Regions from separate parts of the Homo sapiens genome. Here all the other regions are linked to region 3. The links are contacts of gene promoters, found by promoter capture Hi-C in blood cells and fetal thymus (Javierre and others, 2016). All regions are on one chromosome and are shown on one strand. Each heading gives the region's core, a stretch centred on a gene start or on the middle of the fragment in contact. The rest is flanking DNA. Distances are from core to core; before and after follow the strand shown.

Region 1 (2,700 bases), core at 1-2,500, 270 kb before region 3:
TTCAGAAACACCAGATTCATGAATTATGAGCTTGTGATTATGTTTCTCCTAATTAGTAGAGACCTTAAATTGAGATGTTTGCTTGCCTTTTCTAAAGGATGAAAAAACTACTTCACAGTTTTCACTCTGAGCTCCCAGTTCTCTCTGATAGTGAGCGAGACATGAAGAAAGAATTACAGCTGATACCTGATCAACTTCGACATTTGGGCAATGCCATCAAACAGGTAGGAATAGATCCAAACTAGCTAAATTTGGTAATTTTTCTTAAAGCACTTATTCTACAGAAAATTTTACAAAAATGTAAAAAGAACAGATTCAAATAGATACTGTGAAAATGTGTGGCAAACCACTGCCAAAATATCTATTATTTTAATACTTAAGGTTACTATGAAAAAGGATTATCAACAGCAAAAGATGGAGAAGGTGTTGAGTCTTCCAAAACCCACCATTATTCTCAGTGCCTACCAGCGAAAGTGCATTCAGTCCATCCTGAAAGAGGAGTAAGTAAATACTTCCAATCAGCTATTATCGTGAGATAGTTTTTCCTTTACAGTATGCCAGAATCAACCTGTCTTAATAGAAACCTGAATCTTGGTATTTGCATGTCAAGTAATTACTGGGATGAGAGCCACATGATACATAGGGACTTAAGAAATGACTATGGTGGGAGGATTGAAAGGGATGACCTTCTAGTAACATGATTTTGTTGTGTGGCCAAAGGTATTTTACAGTAATTATGTTCAAAAATATTTCCAGTACTTGCACCGTTTGCCACCTTAAATGAATAGTGAACACTATTGCTATCCACCTGAAACCTTCAGCTGTTAATTTTAGCAAAGCAGTTCTTAGATGTTTCAACATTACCAGTTTAAATTCTTAAGAATCCATATAAATGGTTTATTATAATTCCAAAAGTGAGTGACTTTACAATTTTACAGGGGTGAACATATAAGGGAAATGGTGAAGCAAATCAATGATATCCGCAATCATGTAAACTTCTGACACCACCAGGAGCTGACTCACACCTGAACTGAACACCATTGAAGGCTTAAACCCATATTGTAAAACAGGTAGAATTATCTAATTTATAAAAAGGTGTTTTGATGACCTTTGGTGTGGTTCATCTTTTTAAATATGTTGTTTTATAATAATTGAGTAAATGCTTTTATTTAAAATTTGGAATGTGCTTTATAACTCAAGCCTACAGTTGTGTTCAGCAAGGACTCAGGATTATTTCACACTGCACACTGCCAGAACCTCCCTGAACCCTATTGAGTTTTCTCCATATTTGAGCAAGTTAGTTATTCTTGTGAGCTGTGTTTTAAAGTAGCAGCACCAGAAACATGACTCTGAAGAGGGATAGAACCCTAGGATTCAAAGGAGAAGACCACACAGTGTACTTGGCAGCAGCTTTTTTAATTTGAACACTTTCTTCTTGAGGACACACCTTCAGTACAGTTAACAAATGGTTACACCTGAAATCTGCTGAGAGCAGAGCTCAAGATCCACAATTGCAAAGGCCACTGCTGGCTCACTTCCTCACAAGCTGTATTACCTTTCAGAGCTGAGTGAGGCTGTGCTCTACGTCCCAATACTTGTTACTGAGTGGACATGAGGTGCAAGTTTAGCACCTTAAAGGGAGAAAAAAATAGGTTAGTATGCAGAATGTGATTTTGTCCTCACTTCACCTTAAGTCATCTTTTTACACTTGCCAATGTGAGTTCTGAAAGGTACTACTATATCTGCTTAGAAATGGCTGAGTGACTGTCAATTAAAAGCCACATGATAAGGTAGGTTACAGGTAAGAGGTAAATCAGGTTAGACATGCATGAGAACATGTAGGCACAGACTGAATATAAGCACAGGAACACTCGTGAAACCCAACTGAGCTTTTCTTTTGCCTAGAAGGGCTAAATCCTGCCTTCTACATCAGTTCCCATTTATGCTGAAAACCCAGTTGAAAGAATTGTTTCCTACCTGGACAGTGACACAGTAGTTTGTTTCATACCAGAAACACATTGCTAAACAAAACTTAAGAGTCTCAGTTTGGGTTTTTCTACAATAAAGTGAATTCCAACAGTTGGCATTTGCCACAGTAGAGACCACTAACCATTCCCTAATTGTGATGATTTTATTACCCAGCACCATCTTCTGGAGAAAAATATCTGTAAGGTGCTCAGTCTCAGCAGAACACTTCACTGCAAGCTCTAGTTCAGTCAGTTCAGAAAGGCTGTGAATTGCCCACCCTGATTTACAGCACTAATTTTAATAATCTGAAGACAAATTCGCTTGGGGCTTATCCAAGGGACTAGTCTTAAACCTACGTAATTTAAATTGATTGCATTTTATAATTAATAAAATCCCCTGTAACTCAATAGTTATATGTTTCCTTTATCTAAACCATGTAGCACTCTTTATAAAGGGACTTTAAACCAATTAAAATAATGTTTCATGTGCGGCAAGCCTTTAGTACTATTTCCATAATTGGTATTTATTTTTAAATTCATAACCATGAATGCAAGACTACAATAATAACCCAAGAGATGAGGTATGTAGTACTTATCATTTGTCCTATGGAAGACAGAAGTACAGAAGATCTTTAGGGTAAGTCCATAGTGACCTCATTTATAACAAAGACAATTCACTTTAAGTTGATGGTGGCGTTATGTGAACAAAACAATCTACCTAGTTCACTAACTC
Region 2 (2,700 bases), core at 182-2,681, 360 kb before region 3:
TTCTCTCACTGTATTAAAGCTTTTGTGTGTGATCTTTTAAATTCTGATAATGTATTGTAGCCCTCCTGCGTAGATCTGAGCTCAGAACAGTTTACACAGCTGTTCTTCCTGTGTCTTCACAACTTTTAACTGGATTTCATTTCAGGATTGGAAATACGTGGCTGTCATGCTGTGGTTGTGTACATCTTACTAACTCAGAATGCAAGATTCAGCAGGAAGATGATTTATTTCTGTCATCTGGATAGGTTGTTTTGCATCTGGGTTTTGCCAAACTTTGTCAGACAACATGAAAAAAAAGGAGGGAGGATGGTTCTTGTAGCAGTAGGAATTCAGCTATAGGAAAGTCAGCTGTAAGCTAATGTGGCATCTTATTTGCTTTACTTACATTTCTCCATTAAGAAGTATCCAGGGAAAGATTGGTAAGGGCCACATTTTTGTAAAACTAGGAAGATTTTCATTAGACTTTTTTTTTCTTTTATTTTTAAAAAAGTTTTAATTAAAAATTTTTTTTTAAATACAGATGGGGTCTCACTGTGTTGCCCAGGCTGGTCTTGAACTCCTGGACTCAAGCAATCCTCCCACCTCAGCCTCCCAAAGTGCTAGGATGACAGGCATGAGCCACCATGCCCAGCCATTTTTTTTTTTTTTGCCTTTTTTGTTTTGTTTTGTTTTTTGTTTTTTTAATTAAAAAAAAAAAATAGAGACAGGGTCTCAGATTTTCATTAGATTTGGAAACCAAGTTAGAATGTTGACTTTGGAGCCAGACGAACAGATACCAGTTAGCTAGGCATATGTTCTTCCAGGGTCTTTGGCTAGTTAACATTAGTCATTTGCTTCGTGAAAATTCAAGAACCTTTTCAGAGCCAAGTACCTGGATTACCTTCCCAATCAGGTAGAAATTAGACAGGGTCCACAGAAGTAGACACTTAATGCTGTGGTTCAATAAATACTTCCCCTAAATATTAAGTCTTCCCTGAGTCTCAGCAGGTTTGCATTCACACTGCTTAAGTAACTTCCAGAACCTGGAAGAGTCGAAAGAGCACCCCTAGGAAAGAGATGATTCCAAACAGCTTTCATTAACGGCATGTAGGCACAGGTCCCTTTCCCAAAAGTGGATTGTTAGTAGTAGTTCATTCAACCTTTGTTAAGGGGTAGCTTTCCAGAATGTGACATTGTCCTCAGAAAGATAGACATAGGCTTAAACATAATGGACATCCTAAATAGGAATTTTCAGATTGTTTTTGAAGTGAAAAGTGTTTTAATGTCTTTAAATGGAATTGCATAACTAATGGTATTTAAGTATTTTACATGTTGCTAATAACTTTGAATATGATTGTTGCAATTTTATGGAACCTGGGTCTATGGGACTGCTTTTTAAGCAGTTTAAAAAAGGTTTTCAAAGTTTAAAAGCCAATCTTAGCATGTATAATCCTTATGGGATTCTTAAGTTTTATCCTATCTTGTTTTTGCTCAAGAACGCTTTATCAGTGACGTTTGTTAGAATTTTGTTTTTTGTTTTTTTTTTTTAAATTGTTTTTGGGCTAGAAATGAGTTTCTCTAGTTTTATTTGTTCTCCCTGAGTTGGAGTTATGCAATGAATGGCATTTTTGTGGTAAAATACTAATCCTAAAATCTGTTAACTCACTGTTCATTTAAGTAGGGAATATCTGTATACATTAATGACTAGGTAAAACAGGAAATACATTTTGAATATACAGCCTAAAGGCAGGCAGTTACAGGGTTTTTGATTTCTCCGATTTTATAGGGTGCAAGTTCCCAGTGGCAGGATGCCCTGCTGTGTGACTGACTACACTGTGTCCTGAGCAGTGGTAATTTCAATCACCTCTCATCAGTTTGGCCAGCCCTACAACCACCATTCCTAGCCCTGTGTTGCTTGACAGGATACCTGTGCTTGAATGGACATAAGGAAAAGTCCTTACTTTCTCCCCAATTTACCTCTCAATCTTAGTTCTTCCAGAACACACTTCCCTTTCACAATGCAAATAAACTGAAAGTGAGATTTGATACATGGAATTTTGAGACCAACCAACTAACCTTACACATAATTTGAGGGATTCCTGGATTCTTCTAGTGATACTGAAAAGCACACTTGACTAAAGCATAGTGTTTTTTGTTTGTTATGGAAATACGGTATACGTTCATTTAAAAATAAATGGACATACAAATTGCATCTCCTTAGGAGATACATTTTATATACATTTCGGTGCGTTTTTTTCCAGTATGGATTTCTATTTGTTTCTCTCTTCCTCTTGTTTTTTCTGTGTCACTCTTGTATGTCCTCATATCTTTCATACCTCTTGTGTAGTCTCTAGAAGCAGAACACCTAAGTCCTGGGTCTGGATAATGAAACCCTCAGTCTCTGGGGCCTCTGAAAATAAGGAAGCATTGGAGCTATTGCCATGTTGAGTAATGGGCTTCCTAGAACTATTGTCATCTATCCTGCCAGTGTTTTATGTTGTAGCTGTTTTTCTTTGACAGGTGAGTTCCAGCTATGTTGTTAGTCATGATCCTGCCATTATTTTCTGTGTTCTGTAGGATGTCTCCAGGCTACTTAAACATATTTTATGAGTTTGCAATAAAATTGTTGAATCTTGTATGATCAAGTCACTCCTCTGCTCAGAAATCCACAGTGACTTCTTAGTAAGCCCCTACATTATATGCATACTTGTTTTTTTCTTA
Region 3 (2,700 bases), core at 148-2,647:
TCAACAAATGATAACTATTTTTATCCATAGCTCCTACGTGCAGTAATTATCAATGGCACTTTGAAGGAAAAAAGATAATATATCCCCCAGCCATGGGGGTGTCAATGCGCATTTTCAAGGATACTATATCTTGGAGAAACAAATTTAATAATCTGAGAATCTGAGAACTGTTACTATGGTACTACACAGTTGAACAACAATTTTTCTTGGAGAGACTAGGATTAAGCTATTTTATAAAAGTATTGAGAGACTGGATCAATCAATATCCTGCAAAATTGATAGTGAGATAAATTTATTTTTAATTAATTTTTTTTTTGAGACGGAGTCTCACTCTGTCGCCCAGGCTAGAGTGCAGTGGCACAATCTCAGCTTATTGCAACCTCTGCCTCCCGGGTTCAAACGATTCTCCTGCCTCCTGAGTAGTGGGGACTACAGGCGCCCGCCACCACGCCCAGCTAACCTTTTTGTATTTTTAATAGAGACAGGGTTTCACCATGTTGGCCACCATGTCTCAAAAAAAAAATAAAAAATAATCGGCCGGGCGCCTGTAAACCCAGCACTTTGGGAGGCCGAGACGGGCGGATCACGAGGTCAGGAGATCGAGACCATCCTGGCTAATATGGTGAAACGCCGTGTCTCCTACCAAAAAAAAAAAATTAGCCGGGCGTGGTGGCGGGCGCCTCTAGTCCCAGCTACTCAGGAGGCTGAGGCAGGAGAATGGCGTGAACCCGGGAGGCGGAGCTTGCAGTGAGCCAAGATCGCGCCACTGCACTCCAGCCTGGGCGACAGAGCAAGACTCCGTCTCAAATAAATAAATAAAATAAAAAATAACAACAACAAAAAAACACCAACCCCTATTTCCCCCATCGCAATAAAATTAACCTTAGAATTCTTTTTTCTCCTCCCCTCCCCCTACGCCCCAGGAATTGTACAGGCTAGTGGTTGGGGAATATTTTTTCGTGGAAGGGACCGTCTTCCTTAGCTGTGGCCCTCTCATCAGGTCTGGGAAGAGGTAATTGGAAAATAGAACTCATGGAGAAGTGTTACCACAGGCCATGGACAAGGCCAGAATTTCCCTGACATCTGTCCGCCAGCACCGCCCTTCAGGTACAATTCCACAAGAGACCCCCCAAACTTGATGAAGTCACCCGCTTACAAGGGCTCACTCTCCACCTGCGCAAGGACTGCAATTCCCAGGGGCCTCCAGGGCACCCGGCCGCTCCAGTCCAGTCGTGCAGGCGGCGCGCTCTTTCTCGCTCCGCTCAAGTCCAGGAACCGGTTCCCGGGCTCCCAGCCTCTCGGCAGCGCCCACGCGCCTGGGCCAAAGTCCGCGAACGGAAGCCGGCGGCGAGGAGGATTCTGGGAGTTGGAGGCCGAGGCTGCGACCTGCGCAGGCGCAAACCTGCCCCTGGGGTGAGGGCTGTAAGTGGCGCGATTCGCGGCAGCGCCCCGATGGAACCTCCTGGTCCTGTGAGGTGAGTGTTGGCGGCGGCTTCCCCGAGGTCCACCTGGCGGCTTGGCTTTTGCCCGTCCCGCAGGCAGCGGCGGCTCTGCAGTGAGCAGGCCTGGCAGGCAGCTCCGCGGTTGTGTGTGGAGAGGGGTTTGGGTTGCCCGTGGTGCCCGCGCTGCGCTACCTGCGTTGCGTCGCGTCACGTGCCGTGGAGGGGGGTCTTGATGTTCCTCTTCTCTTTTCTCGAGACCCTTGGGTAGGGAGTGAAGGGTGGGAAGGGGAGTTGTACCTGGCCTGGACGACAGCCCCCTCCCCGGGCGGGCACCTGCCCGAGGCCGGGGTAGAGAAGTTTTGCTGGGGCCAGCGGCGCCGGGCATCACCCTGGGAGACGCGAGCTCCGCGTTTTTCCTCGCGCCTCCTTTGTCTTAGGCCAGCGGTCCCCCTTTGTGCTCCTTTCGTGGCCTCTGATGCGTTCCACCTCCTTCCCTGTGTGAAAGGAAAATAAAATCTCAGGACCCCAAACTTACTATGACAAAGGGAAAAGTTAAGCTTGGAAACTGAGTCACGGAAAAAAACTGCTTTTCCTTTTGTTCCTAAACCGATAGCTGCAAGATAGAAAGCAACATATGCCCCCAGGTGGCCTCCCTCACCCTGGCAATGGAAACGAACAGCCGAGCTTCACCGGACAAGACTAGAAATCGTTCCTCCACCCACCCAGAGACAAAGCATATTTGACTTCTTCCTCTACTGTATGTCTACCTTATCTTGTGTAAAATGCAGATTTACTGAGCACGAGACAAATTCATAATTGACTTCCTCTTTTCACGTGCAACATGTGGATTCAGTGAGCTCTAATCAAATCCTCACAAGAATGTGGCCACTTACCTCACCACATACCCTCCCTCTTCTCTCCTCCTTCCCCTCCTGCCAGCTTTCTCCCCATTAAATTGAAGCCCTCAAAACCCTCTTTGGTAAAAGTGCGAGCCACGGATCCTACTGTGGCTTGTGTGTCTTTTTCCTGGGTGCATCCTCAACCTTAGCAAAATAACCCCTAAATTGGTTGAGACCTATCTCAGATGCTTTTTTGGTTTACACCTGTTAGATTTCCTTGACGCAGGCCACTGTACCCGAGACTTGTTCATAGCTGCCCCTTAATAGGGCTTTGGCATTTGAATGAGATCCAGCTCCTTAAAGGGGACTTATATTTTTCTTTTGCTGTAGCTACTACTTCAGAAATTTTTGAAAGCAGG

The links. Contacts are between HindIII fragments. The CHiCAGO score rates a contact against its expected background, and 5 or more counts as called.
Region 1: a fragment that was not itself captured here is called in contact with the fragment with the promoter of ZNF232 in region 3 in 2 of 17 cell types (naive B cells and total B cells); the score reaches 5.5 in naive B cells.
Region 2: a fragment that was not itself captured here is called in contact with the fragment with the promoter of ZNF232 in region 3 in 1 of 17 cell types (naive B cells); the score reaches 5.0 in naive B cells.

The regions. Positions count from the first base shown.
Region 1 is chr17:5,384,508-5,387,207 of GRCh38, reverse strand. It overlaps RABEP1 (rabaptin, RAB GTPase binding effector protein 1), which reads right to left. Exons shown (of 18, transcript NM_004703.6): 18 at 868-2,700. NUP88 (nucleoporin 88) reads left to right here. Exons shown (of 17, transcript NM_002532.6): 15 at 98-224; 16 at 382-500; 17 at 939-2,375. The coding sequence ends at 1,002. Among named protein-coding and RNA genes, the nearest start is that of NUP88, 34 kb to the left of the region's middle. The HindIII fragment of the contact is 8,945 bases long and covers 1-2,700 here.
Region 2 is chr17:5,471,603-5,474,302 of GRCh38, reverse strand. DERL2 (derlin 2) reads left to right here. Exons shown (of 7, transcript NM_016041.5): 7 at 1-2,700. Among named protein-coding and RNA genes, the nearest start is that of DHX33-DT, 3.9 kb to the right of the region's middle. The HindIII fragment of the contact is 2,819 bases long and covers 22-2,700 here.
Region 3 is chr17:5,110,575-5,113,274 of GRCh38, reverse strand. ZNF232 (zinc finger protein 232) reads left to right here and starts at 1,397. Exons shown (of 4, transcript NM_014519.6): 1 at 1,397-1,475. The coding sequence starts at 1,453. ZNF232-AS1 (ZNF232 antisense RNA 1) reads right to left here and starts at 1,340. Exons shown (of 3, transcript NR_135658.1): 1 at 1,174-1,340. RefSeq lists an enhancer at 1,037-1,086. The HindIII fragment of the contact is 2,670 bases long and covers 1-2,001 here.